Linked DNA regions of Homo sapiens: region 2 is linked to region 1. Evidence: promoter capture Hi-C in 16 types of primary human blood cells and fetal thymus (Javierre and others, 2016). All regions are on one chromosome and are shown on one strand. The core of a region is centred on a gene start or on the middle of the fragment in contact, and the rest is flanking DNA. Distances in the headings are between cores, read along the strand shown.

Region 1 (5,004 bases), core at 676-3,175:
ATAAAAAGTGAAACAGGATGTTGACAAATTTTTAAAAGACTCCTACAGAAGTCCAAGTCTATGAGCCTTGCTCTCAAGGTCCCTTCAATCAAGTCCTAACTCTCTTTCCCCACCTGATTCCAGCTAGTTCCTCTACCTCAATGAAAATGTATCCAAGGGATGATCAACTCAGGCTCTGACCCAAACTGCCTAGGTTCCAGCTCCAGCTGTACCTCATTCTACTGGGAACTAAGCACCAGGTGTCTCACTCCCATATTTAAAATGGAAAAGAGCGACCGGGCGCGGTGGCTCACGCCTGTAATCCCAGCATTTTCGGAGGCCAAGGCGGTCGGATCACGAGGTCAGGAGTTTCAGACCAGCCTGACCAAAACGGTGAAACCCCATCTTTACTAAAAATACAAAAATTAGCTGGGCGTGGTGGTGCGCACCTGTAATCCCAGCTACTTAGGAGGCTGAAGCAGGAGAATCGCCTGAACCTGGGAGGCGGCCTATTGCACTGAGCCCAGATCGCGCCACTGCACTCTAGCCTGGGCGACAGAGCGAGACTCCGTCTCAGGAAAAAAAAAAAAAAAAAAAAAAGAAAAAGAGCAATACCTTTCCACAGAGCCATGGTGTGGCGTAAATGTATTTATTTCCATAAAGCCCTTAGAATTAAGTTACCAATTAAGGTTTAATTATTATCAACACCCATGCCCAAGGACACATCCTATACACTCTTGGTTGAGGTGAACATCTCTGTAAAAGAAAAAACCGGCCCGGCGCGGTGGCTCACACCTGTAATTCCAGCACTTTGGGAGGCCGAGGCAGGCGGATCACTTAGGACCACAGGTTCGAGACCAGCCTGGCCAACATGGTGAAACCCCGTCTCTACTAAAAATACAAAAATTAGCCGGGCATGGTGACGCATGCCTGTAATCCCAGCTACTCCGGAGCTGAGGACAGAGAATCGCTTGAACCCAGGAGGCGGAGGTTGCAGTGAGCCAAGATCGCGCCACTGCTGCACTCCAGCCTGGGAGACAGAGCAAACCTCATTCTCAAATAATAACAATAATAAAAACAGACTAACAAAATAAATAACTTTTTTTTAAAAAGAGAAAAGCCAAAGACCACTCGTGTAGACAGCTTTGTCCTCAGTAGCCAAGTCCCTCCCTGCAGCTCTTTTAGAAAAGTCAGGCTGGGGAAGGAGAAAGCTGTCAAACACTCTGCGTCGCCGTCCCGGATACAAGTTAAATGCTCCTCTCCCTTCGTGAAACGTGGATGCAACCCACGCCTTCCTAAAAAGAGGTCAGAGGCGTCCGGGATCATCCAGAGCCCTGCCGGGCTCCAAGAGAAGGGCCGGAGCAGCTGGAGCTCTGACCCCACCCGGGCACCTGACCACTTCGCGGGAAATTAACAGGACACCAAGTGACAGGAGCTGTTAAGTCTTTGTTTTATACCACAACTTTCAACTCCTAAAACAATTCTATCAGGATGGTCCTGAAATCCTCATTTAAAAAACGGCAATGGGAGGTACAGGGAGATTAAGTAACACCCCACGTTATATCGCGAGAAAGAGGTCGCACACTTAAGAGTGGAGGGAGGCGGACTGAACGAGGTCAAACACCTGGAAAACCCTCTAAACAGGCACACAAGACTAGACAGAGTTCTTCCCCGCCCCCCCCGAACCCCCGACGACTCCTCCGGTGGACCTGAGTACAGCCCCCAACGCCAGAAGGCTCCATCGACGGCAACGAAACTTCCCTCCCACCCCTCGCATCTCCAAACCTCAGGTCTTCTCCAGGGCTTCTTACCCCCTTAGTTGACCCCCCAGGTCGTTAGGCGCCCCTAATAACTGGTTCACTTTCGCAAAGACCCGCAAGACACATACTTGGCTCAAACCACCTTGTTAAGTAGCAGTGTCCTGCTCGGAGACCGGAAGTGTCGATGATGCCACAGGCGTCTGGACTACACTTCCCAGAATCCCCCGAATCCGCCTGCCTGAGCCAAAGTTCCCACGACTCCACAGAGCAAATGGACTCCACTTCCCAGAATTCACAGGTCCTCCTGCCTGGGCCAAAATTCCCACGCCTCCCAAGCTACTCGCGAAACGCCTGCGGGAGCCAAATTTCCTGCGCATCGACCGGGCAATTAGACTCCCGCAGGCGTTTCGCTGGTATCTTGGGAAATGGAGTCCATTTGCTCTGTGGAGGCGTGAGAATTTTGGCTCAGGCAGGTGGACCTGTGAATTCTGGCCTATCAACCTATATTTTTATTTTAAAAAAATGGAGTCTCATGTTCTATATCAATTTTTCTAAACTAAAAAAGAATACTTTTCATGGTTTTCTTTAGATAAAGTGACTGTGCCAACCACAGTATGAGGAACACTTCTCTGAAAATTGAGTGACTGCTATTTCTAAACCAGTTACAGCTGTATCCTTGCTCTGTTCTGCCCTCCCAAGAGATAAAAATTTATTGACACGCTCAATCGTAGTAGGCAGGAAACTGTGCCTAATATATTAGGGTATATCTGGCATCAAAGGCCCTTTCTGTCCCCCAGGTCCTTGCACTCTGGGCCTGTGATGGGAGGAGAAGCTGCCATAATCTGTGAAATGCCTTTGGGGTCATTCTTCCATTGTCTTGGACAATAGGTCCTGGCTTCAGTTGACATGGCCAATCCATACTAAATTCATGAATTAGTTAGTTGCTTAACCATACCCTTGTATTCTTCAGGTTTCCTGTTTTTTTTTTTTTCCAAAGTAGATAGGCTGTAAACTTTTAAAAATTTTAGTTCTGTTTCCCTTTTAATTAATAATTATTTCAGTCATTCCTCACTTCGTGCCTTTCACTACGGGTAGTCAAGATGATTCAAGCAACTTCAACACTTTGATTAGAAATTAATTCAGATAAACAATTATATCATTCACAAATTCTACCTTCCATAAAACACTAGCACCTGAATATAATTCAGCCAAATTCTTTGTCCCTTTATAACAAGAAGCTCTCTTCTCTTCCAATAACATGTTCAACATTTCTGACTGAGGTCTTCAGAATGGCCTTTACTGTCCATATTTCTACCAACATTCTGATCATGACTACCTAGGTATGCTCTAACAAGATTGATGTTTTCTCTACAGTTCTTATTCTCTATTTCTGAGCGCTAACCAGAATTGTCCTTATCAGTCCATTCATGGCAATGTAGGCTTTTCCTAGCATACATGTAAAAACTCTTCTAGACTCTATCCATTACATAGTTCCAAAGACTGCTACATTTTTAGGTATTTGTTGCAGCAGCAAGCCCACCTCTCAGTACCAATATTTTTTAGTCACAAAATATCATAGCCTGCCTGGCTTTTATTTTATTTTATTTTATTTTATTTTATTTTATTTTATTTTATTTTATTTTATTTTTGAGACGGAGTCTTGCTCTGTCGCCCAGGCTAGAGTGCAGTGGCGCGATCTCGGCTCACTGCAAGCTCTGCCTCCCAGGTTCATGCCATTCTTCTGTCTCAGCCTCCCGAGTAGCTGGGACTACAGGTGCTCGCCACCATGCCCGGCTAATTTTTTTGTATTTTTGGTAGAGAAGAGGTTTCACCGTGTTAGCCAGGATGGTCTCGATCTGACCTTGTGATCCGCCCACCTCGGCCTCCCAAAGTGCTGGGATTACAGGCGTGAGCGACCACGCCCGGCCGGCTTTTAAGCAACAGAAATCTATTCTTCACAGATCTGGAAACTGGGATCCAAGATCAAAGCACTGGCAGATTTTGTGTCAGGTAGTTGGCCACTTTCTTGTTCATAGTTAGCACCATATTGCTGTGTCTTCATTTGGTTGAAGTGACAAACAAGCTCCTTCTGGCATTTTTTATAAGGGTATTCATCCCGTGACCTAATCACCCTCCAAAGGCCCCACCTCCTATTACCATCACATTGAGGGTAAAAATTACAATATATGGATTTTGGTGGGCCACAAACATTAAGACCATTGCATACGCATCATGCAGTGTCAGAGTTACTAATTCATATCATTGTAAAAAACAATGCAAAAGTAGAGTTCAACATTTTTTATAGTTCTTTTTGTCTTTAGACTGAGGATATATAGTCAAACACTGTACTGTTTAATAAGTTGCTTAAATTACTTCTTGCTGTCACCTTTAGACTGTTTATGTTATTGATTTGAAATACATTTAGGTTAATTTGTTATTCTATGATTTTCACTTTCCTAGTTTATCTACAAAGAAATCTCATTCTTGATTTTATATTATTGGGTATGTCAGTCATCAACATGTTCCCATGAGTCAATGCTCTACCACATATTATTCTCAGAGAAGTGCCACTCCCCTCCTTCCTACCCCTAAACCAATTCCACAGTGTTGCCACCTAACACCTTTATGTAACTAATTTTATTATTTTCATTACCACTTTTTTTTAACAGAATAGATGTGTTTCTTATTTTTCCTTTTTACTTAAATGTTAGGATAGTACACTTCTAATTCTTCTATATTCACATAATAACATCTTGGAAATCATGTCATATGGAGTAATTTATTTTTAAAACTGCATAAATTCCATTGAGTGGTTTATATAACAGTGCTGCAATTTATGGACATTTCAGTGACTTCCAATATTTTATTATTACAAATGATGCTGTTATAAATACACTTGTACATTTGTATATTATCCCTGTTGAAGATACATCAGAAGAGTACATCCCAGAAAGCAGGATTGAAAAGTGAAGATATTAATAGAAATTTTGTTGCATATTGTCAAGTTGCCTTAATTTTTTGGTACCATTTCCATTTGCAGAAGTAATGTATAAATATACTCTTGCCTTGAAACTAGCTAACAAAATGTGTTATTACAACATTTTTAAAGTTTTGCCAATCAAATGGTAAGAAGTGTATTTAAATTTAGTTTTAATTTATATTTCTTGTTTTTTAAATAACATAGAACATTTTTGCATATTTCCTGTGTCAATATTATTTTTCTTTTTGTAAATTGTTCAAATCTATTACCCATTTTTATGTTGAG
Region 2 (5,004 bases), core at 896-3,395, about 14 Mb before region 1:
TCTGCCCGCCTCGGCCTCCCAAAGTGCTGGGATTACAGGCGTGAGCCACCATGCCCGGTGAGTTATGTTTAATTCTACAATAGATTGTTGTTGACTGTAGTCACCTTGTTGTGCTATCAAATACTATGTCTTATTCCTTCTATCTGACTATATTTTTGCACCCATTAACTATCCCCACTTTCCCTTCCATTTCTGCTATCCTTCTCAGCCTCTGGTAGCCATCCTTCTAAGCTTAATCTCCGGGAGTTCAATTGTTTAAATTTTTAGCTCCCACAAATAAGTGAGAACATGTGAAGTTTGTCTTTCTGTGCCTGGCTTATTTTACTTAACATAATTTCCTCCAATTTCACCCGTCTTCTTGCAATTGATGGGATCTCATTCTTTTTTTATGGCTAAATACTACTCCATTGTGTATATGCATCACATTTTCTTTATCCATTTATCTATGGACAGTTAGGTAGCTTCCAAATCTTGGCTGTTGTGAATAGTGATGCAATAAACATGGGAGTGCAGATCTCTATTAGATATACTGATTTCTTTTCTGGGTGGTGTAAACTGTATCATATGGTAATTCTATTTTTACTTCTGTGGGGAACCTCCAAACTGTTCCCCATAGTGGCTTTACTAATTTACACTCCCACCAACAGCGTATGAAGTTTCCCTTTCCTCTCTGTCCTGGCCAGCATTCATTATTCCCTGTCTTTTGCATAAAAGTCATTTTAACTAGAGTGAGATGATATCTCATTGTAGTTTTGATTTGCATTTTTATAGTGATCAATGATGTTAAGCATGTTTTCATCTACCTGCTTGCCATTTATCTGTCTTTTAAAATTTTTAGTTTTATGAGTACATAGTATGTATGTATATTTATGGGATACGTGAGATATTGTGATACAGGCATACAATGTGTAATAATCATATCAGGGTACACAAGCATTTATCATTTCTTTGTGTTACAAACATTCTAGTTATAATACTCTTTTAGTTGTTTTTAATGTACAATAAATTACTGTTGACTGTAGTCTCTCTACTGTGCTATCAAATACTAGATCTTATTCATTCTACCCTGTCTTAAGGAGGCCTTGGTAGCCATGCTGAGGTTATGGGGTGCTGCTTCCAAAACCAAAAGTATTATGGGCAGCTGGTATGAAGGATCATAGGCTTATGGTCTGTGAGATCCTGTATGTTTAAGAAAGCCCAGTCTTATTGCCAGTAATTACTGTTTTAATGGTGTATAGCATGAGGCTGAAAGAGACAGTTTCCTGCATTGGAAGCTTTTACTCAACAAATGGCCGTTGTATGTGGTTCAGAGATTCCAAGAGGCATGAGAAGTGTAAACCAAAAATAAAATTCCCAGCCCCCCAACCATCTGAATGCATCCTTCCTCTTGGCCAAGGGCATTCCAAAGTTAATCTGAAAAACTAGTTCAGGACGTGATGGGAAGTGAGGGTCAGACTTGCCCTCCTCCCCTTGGAATTCAGGCACAACTGACCAGCATTAACATTAAAACAGAGATTTTAAGACTTCTTGTAGCAATAAGACAGTGAATTCCAGCCTGATTGTAGTATAGCATTACATGACAGATAGCAGGCCCTGAAAGGAATTGAAGTATTTTACTCTAAACTTTATTTATTTGACATATTTTGAAGAGGCCCTGCAAAGGTGTGTCTTGTGGAATCTGCATTTTGCTGAGAATCCCCTTTCCTCTCCAGGGTTTTTTTATTTTCATGGTCCAGGAAAGAATTAAGAGTCTGGCACCTTTCAAAGTCTGATAGGAAACATTTACAATCTATTCCCTCTGAAGCCTGCTGCGTGAAAGCTTCATCTGCTTAATAAGAACCTTGGTCTCTACAACCTCTTATCTTAACCCAGACACTCCCTTCAGTGGGTATGGGACTGCGGAAATCGGCCAGCGGCCCCTTTAAGGAGCAGCAAGTCCCTGTCTCGCTCTTGGTGTCGCGCCTTTTCCTAGCGCCCTCCGCGGGCCGCTTAGCCCTTGTTCCGGGTGAATCTCAGGGAGGGCACCGGAACCCTGGGCTTCTGAGAACTACATTACCCATAATGCCGAGCGCCAAGCTGCAAAGACGCGGAGCCAATCAACGTTCAGGAACGGACCTGTCTCCGTTTGTTGCATACGGTAAGGCGGGACTTCCGGCACCGCTCCGAGATGGTAATTTTGGTGGTTCTCTACCTCGGCCCACGCCGCCTGAGTTAGAAACGCTGCCTCCGGCACAGAGCGGGGGTCGCCCCGCTGCGCATCAGCCGGTGGGTCGCTGGCGCTGGTGGCAGCCGTGCCTGGGTTCCCGCCCCGGGTCGCCCGCCGCTCCCGGCCCCGCTCCGCTCACAATCCGATGGCGGCGGCCGTGCTTAGGGATTCGACTTCGGTGAGTGCTGCGTCTCCCGGGCCTCACCTGCCCTCTCCGCCGGAAATCCAACACCCTGCATGAGGGGCGCCTGCTTGCGTCCCTGCAGCCCGACCCTAGAGTCCAGGACTATGAGGCCCTCGCGGGTGGGGCTCCCATTTACAAGCCTGGTGTCGTGGGCTGTGGAGGGTGTGGCAGGCGGAGGGGCCGGTTTCTGTGAATCTTGCTGGGACGATTGAGCCAGTAACGTTCACGCCCGAATGGTAAAATGAGGCTCTTTCTTTTCAAGACGCTGAGAGCCATGGGTGGTTGTGAACAGACGAGGCACATGGTCTGAGTTAGACTTTTCAAATTTTTTCTAAAGTTACTCAGAGTTGGAACAGCCTGGAAGGGGGATAACACCGAGGCACAGGGAAGTTGAGTCCTTGTGCAAGGTCCCACAGCAGGTAAGAGTCACACGGAACTGAGGAGCAATAATAATTTAGTCATCACCAAGTCACCTGGCTCCAGGGCTGCGCAGGGAAACAAGGAGGCATCAGCCCATGGAGCTTCCACCATAGTTACCTGCCTCTCATAGCCTTCCTCTTCCCGCAGGTTCCCGTGACTGCAGAAGCTAAACTTATGGGCTTTACACAGGTGAGTGGAGAGTGTTTCGGGCCCTCACTGATGCTGACCCCAGTGTTTGTCTCTGAGATTGTGTTCTGGGACTCTTCTCTTGGCACTCTTTGGGTCCTTGGTTCTAGGAATCCTGAACAAACATCAGTCCCAGGGTCATACATCCAGGCTGGAAGCTGGTATAGAATGGTTCCTATTGCTGGGAACCAGTAAAGTAAGGTGTGGAACGTTGTCTCAGGCTTAGATACCAGATGAGCAAGTGCTTGAAGGTCAGGCTGAGCTGGTTTAGGAAACTACAGCTGTTTTCTTTCTCATGGGAACTGAAAGCTGGGATGCAGGAATCAGACAAAAAATGGCTGTCAGTTGTCGGGTGTTTCTTCTGGAGTGTGTGATGAGCAATGACAGTTTGGGGGCAGAGGAGGTATGTGATCTGATCCAGGTCTCATCAGGTTCCCTGTGTGTGGCCAAGCTGAGAGAACAGGCTGAGTGTGAGGTATGAGATAGGAAGATAGTGAAGAAGGCTGCTGCAGTAGTCCAGGTGAGTGTTACTGGTGGCTGGACTTGTGTGGTGGCTGTGGAGGTGGTAGTTGGATTTTAGATCAGTTTTTTTAAGTAGGGAAGCCTGGATTTTGAGATAGAAAAGTAGGATTTAGGGGTAAAAGCAAGGTGTTTGGGTTTAGCAGCTGGAAATATGGAAGCTCCACTAGCGAGGATTGTAAAGTTGGTAGTAGAGTCAGTTATCTCTAGAGATAATCAGAAATTTTGATATGGACCATCTTTATTTTTAAAATTTTTTAATAAAAATCATCTGAACATGGCCCAATGGGACATCTTTTAGAGTCTGAGATGTTTCAAAGAACAGTTAGTTTAGACATGAAGTGGATAGTTTATCCTACAGGACTAGAACTGTGTTGAGGGATTCAGGATAGAGACATTTAAAAGGTGGTGGCCACTACTTGCCTAGGGGTATAGCTTGGGACACAATTAGGAGGTGGAATCGTGATCACTTTGGTAATGCTATTACCAGCCCAGGGAAGGAAGGTTGGGGGTCACTACTGGCTCTCCTGCTTGGGGACATGGTTGGTCATGGTGGGAATCACAAAGACAGGTATGGGAGAGAGGTGGCTATGGTAGGGTGTGAGAGCAAGGATGATCTGGCAAGTGGCCAAGGATCTAGGAGAAGAGTGGGCATGAGATCAATGCTTGGAAGTAATTGAGACAAGATGACACTGAGACCAGAACTAGTGCTTACTCAGCACTCTGGATATATCTACCAGGGTTTTGTGGCAACCCTTGAGGTGTCAGGAATTTCAGGGAGGTGGATAAGTTGAGGGGCACAGGTGGTCATCTGGGAGTTATTGGGCCTGAGGTGTGGGGGTCCCCTGGGGCAGACTTTGAATGAGGGTTAGCAGGAGAGGAAGGCTGTGACTTAAGAGAGGACATCAAGTGCAGCGCTAGTGCAAGAGGGCCATCGGTGTCAGATCCCCAGGTATTTCTGGGTGACTGAGGATGTAGAAAGGGACAGAGTCAGGCAGGGAGGCCTTCAGAGCAGGGTCTCTGAAGGGCTGCCTTTGGCAGTGGGGACCATTCAGCCTGAGTGGCACCGGACCTCATTTCAGTTTGCCAAGCACTTTCTGAATGTTGCATTCCAACTATCGTGGGGATGCCAGAGAGATGCCTATGGTGTGGGGCAACAGGGTGGAAATAGCCGTGGGAGTGAGATTGTTTGAGAGAGTGTGTGCTTCAAAGAGTGATGTGCATATGGAGAGGAAGTGTGAACTGAACAACCCATGGCCATGGCATTGAGGATATAAGAATGATGGCAAACCTCATCATTGTTTGTATGTGAGTGGCATAATTTTGGAAACCCCAGGAGAACTGTCTGACAAGACAAAATCCAGCCCTATATGCTAGACCCAGAGTTTAAAATGGCATTTCCTGGCCCACCTGCCTGTTGGTGCTGTGGGAAGACACAGTGATGATGGGACCATGAGGAGAGGGCAGGAATCAGTGCCACCAGGTCTTG

Evidence for each region. The method cuts DNA at HindIII sites, captures the fragments that hold promoters and counts their contacts. A CHiCAGO score of 5 or more calls a contact.
Region 2: the fragment with the promoter of ZNF416 here is called in contact with the fragment with the promoter of ZNF155 in region 1 in 2 of 17 cell types (non-activated CD4 T cells and total CD8 T cells); the score reaches 16.0 in non-activated CD4 T cells.

The regions. Positions count from the first base shown.
Region 1 is chr19:43,981,109-43,986,112 of GRCh38, reverse strand. ZNF155 (zinc finger protein 155) reads right to left here and starts at 1,925. Exons shown (of 5, transcript NM_198089.3): 1 at 1,868-1,925. It also overlaps a transcript of ZNF221 not described here. RefSeq lists a silencer at 2,029-2,228. The HindIII fragment of the contact is 8,717 bases long and covers 1-5,004 here.
Region 2 is chr19:57,576,052-57,581,055 of GRCh38, reverse strand. ZNF416 (zinc finger protein 416) reads left to right here and starts at 2,145. Exons shown (of 4, transcript NM_017879.3): 1 at 2,145-2,384; 2 at 2,958-2,999. The coding sequence starts at 2,352. RefSeq lists a silencer at 2,236-2,455. The HindIII fragment of the contact is 6,514 bases long and covers 1,822-5,004 here.